Linked DNA regions of Homo sapiens: regions 2 and 3 are each linked to region 1. Evidence: promoter capture Hi-C in 16 types of primary human blood cells and fetal thymus (Javierre and others, 2016). All regions are on one chromosome and are shown on one strand. The core of a region is centred on a gene start or on the middle of the fragment in contact, and the rest is flanking DNA. Distances in the headings are between cores, read along the strand shown.

Region 1 (2,953 bases), core at 211-2,710:
GCATATTTTGCAAAACATTTCCCCTAGGGCTCTGGAGAAACTATACACAACTCAGAAAGTGCCTTAAAATTGGTGACATGGTTACCGAACAACTAACCTTAAAAGTTTATGGTATTTTACACTTTTAAAAAATCAAATTCCGATTTCGGTTTGAAAGAGGAATTTAATCCTGTTTCTCGGAGCTTCAAAATCATTAATTCTGCCCGGCTTTTTTTTGAGACGGAGTCTCCCTCTGTCGCCAGGCTGGAGTGCAGTAGCGCGATCTTGGTTCACTGCAACCTCCGCCTCCCGGGTTCAAGCGATGCTCCTGCCTCAGCCTCCCAGTAGCTGGGACTACCGGCGCCCGCCACCACACCCAGCTAATTTTTGTATTTTTAGTAAAGACAGGGTTTCACCATGTTGGCCAGGATGGTCTCGATCTCCTGACCTCGTGATTAGTCCGCGTCGGCCTCCCAAAGTGCTGGGATTACAGGCGTTGAGTCACCGCGCGTGGCCAATTCTGCCCAGTTTTTATGGCCCAACAACTTAATATAAATTATCTTTAGGTAACCCCAAGGTCCTAACTTCCTCACAACTGGTTACAACTTCCGAGATGTGAAGGTAAATCATAGCGTCCCAACTGTGTAGGATAGTTAGCACGTGACTTAAAAACCAAGTTAAAAAGATTTCAAACACAATATTCTTTCATACTTTTTTAGGTAGCTAAAACTTAAATATAACTATTTCAAAAAAGCAGACAAAAAATTTAGAATCCTAAGCAAGCTAAACCCAAGCAGGAAAAAAAGAGACCAATTCCCTTCCCGGTGCCAGTCAGGAGTTGGAGACACCGGGCTGCCTCCGGCTGGTTTCTGAAAAACGCCGCAGGTGGAAAAACATCCCGAAGAGGACCTGAGACTCGGAGGAGGCGGGGAACTGACGCGCCCCAGTGTGCCCGGGGCCCTTCCGACCCCCGCCAGCCAACCGCTCGCAACCCGCTCGGGGCGGCGCGCGTCGCGGCCTCCGCGGCCCTGAAGAACTGAGGCTCCCGACCCCAGCGCGACCACCCTGACAGGAAGCGGCCCCCGGCCGCGGGCGCCCGCGCGCCGTCTGAGGTGAACCCGCCGATCTCCGGCCCCCACCCCCGGAGCCGGGAGTCCTCGCCCTCTCGCCCGCGGCCCCCGCGGGCCCACCACCTGCTGCGCCGGCCGGCCGCCCTCCGCTTCCGGCTCTCGGGCGCCGGGAGGGGCCGGGGGCGGGCCTCGCCTAGCTGCAGCCGGGTGGGGGAAGGGAGCAGGCGGGGGAGGGGCAGCGCCGGGCAAGCCGGGCCCCGCGGGCCGCGCTCCTCACCTGGCGGCGGGTCTCTCCGCCTGACACGCTGCGCGCCGCCGCCGGTAGCCGCCGGTGAATGGGTACAGGTAATGCCGCCGAACCCCTGCTTGCTCCGGCTCCGCCACCGCCGGCCCCTCCGTCCGCTGTTTATTAAACTTTTCTGTTTGGTTGTTCGGCCTATGACGCGACCGCGGAGGAGAGCCACTGGATTGGCCGGCTCCCGCGGCTGACGCGCGGGCCCCGCCCGCCCGCTAATTATTACCGGCGCGGGCGGGGCCGCAGGCCGGAGGAGGCGGGGAGAGGCGGGGTCAAGGCTCGGAGCGCACGGCAATTGGCCGGAGGCAGGAAAAGAGGCGGGGCGGAGCGAAAGGAGATGCTCCTCCGCCTTCTGCACCTCCAGTGTCCCTTGCTCCACTGCCCTCTCTGGGGCGCTTCCCGCCGCGGTTTCTCTACCTCCAATAGCTACGGGAAGGCGATTAAGAGGTGCCGCGGAGACTTTAAGGGCTTGGTTATGTAGGTTCAGGTACCTTTGCCACCTCGCAGGGAATGGCGTGTCCCTGTCTTGGACTGAGGCACCAAAAAGAGTTGCACTCCACCTGCCACTTGTGCAGGAAGGAATTCTGAGCTTCTGTCTTCCCATGCAGGCCGGCGCCTCAGTCTGCAAGCGCAAAGTCCGAGCTCAGGGCGCATACTGGAAAGCAGTTCTCTGCCCTGTCCTGAACTGGGACTTGGAAATAGAAGCAAGACGAGAAGCGTGCATGCACACGTGTGCAATACATACATGCACAGGCACAAGCACCCCCAGTTCCAGCCTGTTCCAAAAGCACGGGGTCAGTTCCCACCTGCGTGGTGCACGCTGGGCTGCTGCGCTGGAACTAGGGGTGATAGGCAGAATGGCTCCCCCTGAAGTTTTTCAGCCTTCGTTCGGGCTCACGAGCATCACGAGCAGGAAGTACGTGACACTTTAGTTCGAGGTCATTCAATCCTATTGTGAATGAGGAGTTCCGTTAGGGCATCCAGGTAGGCGAGCCCAGTCCTGAGAATCCTCTTTATTTTAAATGTTGGTATTTTGTTATTCATGGATTTTTTTTTTGCATTAATTTTAATTTTAAAAAATAAAAATGTTATTCATCTTGATCACTTAGTTTTTTGGTGCTCCCTTAAATGTTGTGCCTGAAGTGAGTACCTGTTGAGCATTTAGCAACACAGAAGTCACCTTGGGGAGTACAGTTTAAGTGGAGGACAAAAGCCTGATTGGAATGGTAATAAAACCTACTTGTTAGGCTATTTGTGGGGGTTAAATAACATAATATGTGTGAAAGAGCTTCTTGAACTAGCAAGGTTATGCGTCAAGTCTTACGGATTTTGTCTTAAATGTATTTTTCTTCCGATTCTTGTCCAGTTTATCGTTGTATTAACTCCAGCACCTAACCCAGTTGGATTTTCATATGCAGTTATTATGAATTTGCAGAAATTGGGTTTACATGACCTTTACTGCTTTCCTTTGTTCCAGATTCGTTCTGGGAGATTGAGAGATTATAGTATTGCATTGTGACGTGGAATGCAGACAGACCACTGTCACTTACTAGCTTTGTGCTCTTAAGAAAATTGTGTGAAATGGGAACGAAAACCTACCACAAAGGAT
Region 2 (2,786 bases), core at 250-2,749, 130 kb before region 1:
CACATGGGTCTCATAACCTAAACAAAGAGTGATACTAATTCTTTACTTTGGCAACTAAGTGGACAGTGAACACTAAGACTGCAAAGTAGTTTTGTTTTTATAAAATATATTTAATAAGATTTAATTAATTTTTTTGAGCTGGGTGCAGTGACACGGGCTTGTAATTCCAGCTACTCAGATGGCTGAGGCAGGATGATCCCTTGAGCCCAGGAGTTTGAGGCCAGCCTGGGCAGCATAGTGAGACCCCATATCAAAAAACAAAACAAAAACAGATTTTATTACATTTTCAAAAAATGAATTTAGACATTTCATTTTGATTTAAAGAATTTTGAGATTAAATATTAAAGCTCTTTAATTATTTGTATCTCGCTTTTTATTATTAATAATTTTGAATATTTTCAAAGAAAACTAACTTTGAAAATGCATATGAAAAATTTAATTTTTCAATTTTTAACACAGAGTTTTGATGAAGATATTTACTTCTTGTACACTGAAGTATAATTCAATGTACTTTTTAATCTTTTATATCATCAATAAACCACACATTATATGAAAAGCTCAGGAGAGCATAATTAATGATTCTAATGAAATTAAAGAAAGAAAAATAATTGTAAAAATTAAAGTCTGATTTTAAAAATGTATAAAGTATAAAATTCATGAATTTATGTCTTTAATGCTCATCCAAACATTGCCATCCCATCGACTTTCTTCAAGTGCGGTGATAATTAAGTTTAGTTGTATATTTTACCAATTTTCAATCACATAAAAGCCATCACTTTGCAAATATGTTTGTTTTGCAATTATGAAAGCAAACATATCTAGGTAGGAGAATAGAAAGTATTTTATTTAACAGTGTATAGCTTGTTTATACCTCCTAAATACTGAGACTCCATGAGCACTCTCAGCTTAGGCCCTGCAAATGCTAGAAGTAGACCTATCAATAAGACACAATCTGCTCCCAGTGCTCTCCTAGAATTCATTCACTTACTGAATGAGTATACATCGAGCGGCTCTTACGTGCTAGGTACTGATGAACTTTCAGTAAGCAAAAGCAGACTATCCTCAAGGAGCTGAAAATCCAATGAAGGCAGATATTGATCAAATCATCATAGACAACAAAGGTCTATTTATTTCCAGGATCATGACCTTGGTGGGAATAGATGTGCCATGCTACTCCATTCCCTCTCCAAGAAAGAAATTGTCACTCCAACTTTTTGGTGTGCTGTTGGCAAACAGTCTGAAAATAAGACTGGCCTCAGCCTTATTTAGTTTTCAAGAGCAGAATTTTAAAAAACAAAAACAGGCTTGCAAGCAAGCATCCAGTCTTGGTCCCTCTCCCACGAGTTTCTTTCTGCCTCTCTGCAGGAGGAAGGAGAGCAAAATACTCCCACAGCCCTGGAAATCTTGCTGAGAGGACAGAAAGAGAGGGGATACACAGAAAACAAATTAGTACTTCAGGATACAACCCTGCCAAATTACTTTTTCTGGGGGTGTTAAAGGGAATATGCTTCCAAACTAAAGAAAGGGAGAAAATGTGAAAATAGAACCACTTTTGAGATCCATTTTGGTGTCAGGAATCTTTGAGATAATATTAATTGTGATACTTTACACCCCAAAATTGCCAGGCATGGTGTGTCATGCCTGTAATCCCAGGACTTTGGGAGGGCAAGGCAGGAAGATCACTTGAGCACAGGAGTTCAAGACCAGCCTGGGCAACATAGTGAGATCCCGTCTCTATAAAAAATCAAAAAATCACCTGGCCATGGTGGTGTGCACCTGTAGTCTCAGCTACTTGGGAGGCTGAGGTGGGAAGATCACCTGAGCCAGAGAAGTCAAGGCTGCAGTGAGCCAAGATTGTGCCACTGCACTCCAGCCTAGGTGACAGAGTGAGACCCTTTCTCAAAATTAAAAAACAAAACGAAACAAAAAAACAGAAAAAATCCTTAAAGTTCCCTTGTCCTCAAAAACATTGTCTTGGTTCAAGTCTACACTCACCCTCAGGAGAGCTCTCAATGTACAGTGTTTCAAAGGTAAACCAATGTGTGTGAGAGGCCTCAGGACAGAGAAGTCCCATGGTGGGGGCAACAAGGCTTCTCTTCCTCCAGTCCCCTCTGCAATAGGGACAGGGGCTCCCAGCCCCTGGAACCCCTAGTGCCTGCCCTGGCCCCGGGCAGTAGCGTGCCCCTGAGCCTAGCTCCCTTGCCACCCTACAATAAAACCAGCAGTGGGCCCCATCTTGCCAGAAACACCTCTGGACTGACTCCTCCTGGTCAGGTAAAGTTTCAAATGAACTCTACTCTCAGTTTCACAGTCATCCATTCATATTCCGAATGGACCACTGGTTAAAAACAGGAAGCATAAATGGAATACAAATTAATAAGGAAGATATAGTGATAACTATGGCCAACCTGCCTTGAGATGCTCATCATCCCGTCTGAAAGCTCCATTCATCTGGTCAAAATGCTTCTAGTCCTTAAAATATCACTGTCAAAAAGAGGAAATTTGACCCTGAAAGTCATTCTTGTCTATTTCATATTATTACACACAGATAGGTTTCAATAAAGTAGATCTCCAAAACTAAAGACCATTAAAGTCACTTGTCATGTGGGGCTGGCAGTGAGCATTTCTGGAGTCGGAGACAGTAAAACAAAGAGGCTCTTGTCGCTGAAGATTAAGGAAAAGTAATTGCCAAGTAAAGCCCAGGCTGGACCCAGAATTAACATCCATGAGTTTGGTTTCTTAAGTGAATCTGATGCCAGGAACGTTTCTGGCTCTTTCTGCCCTGT
Region 3 (2,700 bases), core at 60-2,559, 210 kb after region 1:
CAGGGGAAGGTCATTACTGTAATCTGAGGCATGCTTTGCTGGATTTTGGCAGGCAGGGGTGACCAGGTGTATGCTGGGAGCTAGAGAGAAGCTGAGTTCACCTCACAGTTCTGCAGGTAGTCAGAATATCTGCTGATAGTGGGGGCTAGCCATGTTGGCAGTCTGATCCTCTCTACTCTGAACATGCTGTTCTGGAGAATTCATGGCTTCCAACCCTGGTATATCTTGCCAGCAAATGCTATATGAATGGTTATTCCACAACTAAGCTATAGGTCACCCAGAAACCCCCAGGACAGCTGTCAGGAGGCCAAGACTCAGTATAAGGAGGCTACAGGGCAGACTACTGGGTTTGACATGTAATGTGGCTCTTATGCTGACACTGGTACCCCATGTTTCTTGCCAGAGGCTGGAGTACCATTCCCTCATGGAGGTTCTTCACCTAGTGACCTTCATTGCCATCTTCATGGGAATCCCCACACACCCTTACTGCAGTTGGGTTTTTATAGCCTCCAGGACCCTGCCTCCCACCCTGAGCTCCAGCATTCTGTCCTGATAATGTCATAGCCAGTTCTGGTCTTCGTGTTACTTGAGAGGGTTGTAGCCAGAGAACTAGTTGTGGGTCCCCATCTTGTACCTTTCCTTGAGTAGGTCAAAGCCTGCTCTCACACGAGTCTGGGGAAGCCCGGCAGCCTGGCCTTGCCTCTCCAATGGGAGGGGAAATGAGGAGGGAGTAGGCTGTCTGAACTGCTTGGTATGCCTGACAGTGGACTCTCTTTCTGCTCACTGACCCTGAGAAACAGCTTTGTCCTTTATGGCTCCTCCTTGACTGTTTCCCGCCCTCCAACTGTCATTATCCTGGGGTATTGATTTCCAAACCTGACAGGTATGGAGAATCACCAGGATGCTAGAAAAAAGAGGGCCCTATCTCTGGAGATTCTCTGTATTTAACTAGTTATGAATGAGGCCTGGGAATCTGGCACTTTTGTACAGATATATGTAAAAGATCTGTTGAGGATGAATAAGAGACTTAACTAAGTTGCTGAGTACGTTTTATTTCCTTTTTTGTCCAACTCTGTGCTTTTTGGATATTAATGGTCACACATTGTTTTTAGAAATCAGAGAAAGAATTGATGTCATTACAAAACAAAAAACACATCCTGAAATGATCTTTCAGAAACAATTAATCCTCTTAAATTTGTTCCTCTTTTCCGCAGGGGGACTTGATCTCATCTTCATGCCAGGCCTTGGGTTTGACAAACATGGCAACCGACTGGGGAGGGGCAAGGGCTACTATGATGCCTATCTGAAGCGCTGTTTGCAGCATCAGGAAGTGAAGCCCTACACCCTGGCGTTGGCTTTCAAAGAACAGATTTGCCTCCAGGTCCCAGTGAATGAAAACGACATGAAGGTAGATGAAGTCCTTTACGAAGACTCGTCAACAGCTTAAATCTGGATTACTACAGCCAAATAATCAGTGTTTTATATGAGAGTAAAGCAAAGTATGTGTATTTTTCCCTTGTCAAAAATTAGTTGAAATTGTTCATTAATGTGAATACAGACTGCATTTTAAAATTGTAATTATGAAATACCTTATATAAAACCATCTTTAAAAACCAATAGAAGTGTGAATAGTAGAATATTAATTAAAATGGAGGCTATCAGCCTGTGATTTTCAGCTTAACTTCCTGGTGTTAATGTGACAAGTTGATCTGTCTACTTTGCAATTTAAGTTAAATATTTATGAGGAACTGTGCTCCGACTGAGTGCGAGAGGAAGGTAAACTTGCGGGAGTGGGCACTGTATTTCATTACGCCTTTCATGACCTGGTCTGTCCTGGCAGGCACATGGAGACTTGGGGACTATTAATTTATTTGTTGGTATTTGCTTTGGATACAGAATTCCCTAAGAATATTATCTCACTTCATCATGACTTCCTTTACCCACTCTAGAATTTTATGTTGGACACTTTGTAGCTTTTGGTGGTTAGTGGAGGGAAACCTTTTATGATTTAAATACTTTTACTCCACTGATTGGTTACCATCACTGCATGTATCAGCCCTTGATGAGTTTAAGATCTAGTATCTTATAAGTTAGAAATTATTTCTGTTTACTCATGGTTTCTGCTTTGGAAATGAAATTTGCTGTGAGTTGAAAGTTGGCAGATGGCAACACAGCTAGGGAGCAATAATTTTGTTGTGGGGAGGATTTGGTCATCTCCAGAAACCCGGGAGTCACGTGGCTCTCTTACTCACACTCCATGTCCATCCTGTCACCAGGTCTTGTTGATTTTGCCTCTGAAATGCCTCTTAAATCTATTCTCTCCTTTCAATTTTCCTGTCACTCCTTTTGTCCAGCCTTTTAGCATTTCTAAGCTGGACTAGGCGAGAGTGTCACACCTGCTTCCCTTGGCTTCCATCTTGCCTCTTCCAGTTTATTTCTCAAGCTGCAGTCAAACTGATCTTAGAAAACACGAATCTAATCATGCAGCACCCCTGACTAAGGTCTTCCGGTGGCTGTTCAGAGCCTCTTGGGTAGCAAACAGATGGCTTCTGTTGTATACAAAGCCCCTTAAGAGAGGTCTCCTCATCTACTTTTTCTAGCCTCTTCTCTCCCAACTCTGTATTCTCCTGTAACACTGACTGAGCACTGCAGGCTTCTGCCCTTTGCACATAGTAAGCATGCATTTCTCTCTGTCTGAAA

Evidence for each region. Contacts are between HindIII fragments. The CHiCAGO score rates a contact against its expected background, and 5 or more counts as called.
Region 2: a fragment that was not itself captured here is called in contact with the fragment with the promoter of ZFAND6 in region 1 in 2 of 17 cell types (megakaryocytes and erythroblasts); the score reaches 6.0 in megakaryocytes.
Region 3: a fragment that was not itself captured here is called in contact with the fragment with the promoter of ZFAND6 in region 1 in 1 of 17 cell types (neutrophils); the score reaches 5.4 in neutrophils.

Annotation. Positions count from the first base shown.
Region 1 is chr15:80,058,183-80,061,135 of GRCh38, reverse strand. It overlaps ZFAND6 (zinc finger AN1-type containing 6), which reads right to left and starts at 1,460. Exons shown (of 7, transcript NM_019006.4): 1 at 1,327-1,460. RefSeq lists silencers at 888-1,757, 1,454-1,782. The HindIII fragment of the contact is 4,474 bases long and covers 1-2,953 here.
Region 2 is chr15:80,188,811-80,191,596 of GRCh38, reverse strand. No RefSeq gene overlaps it. Among named protein-coding and RNA genes, the nearest start is that of FAH, 37 kb to the right of the region's middle. RefSeq lists an enhancer at 2,095-2,264. The HindIII fragment of the contact is 5,335 bases long and covers 1-2,786 here.
Region 3 is chr15:79,843,957-79,846,656 of GRCh38, reverse strand. ST20-MTHFS (ST20-MTHFS readthrough) reads left to right here. Exons shown (of 4, transcript NM_001199760.2): 4 at 1,215-2,700. The coding sequence ends at 1,447. It overlaps MTHFS (methenyltetrahydrofolate synthetase), which reads left to right. Exons shown (of 3, transcript NM_006441.4): 3 at 1,215-2,700. The coding sequence ends at 1,447. Among named protein-coding and RNA genes, the nearest start is that of MTHFS, 52 kb to the left of the region's middle. The HindIII fragment of the contact is 8,304 bases long and covers 1-2,700 here.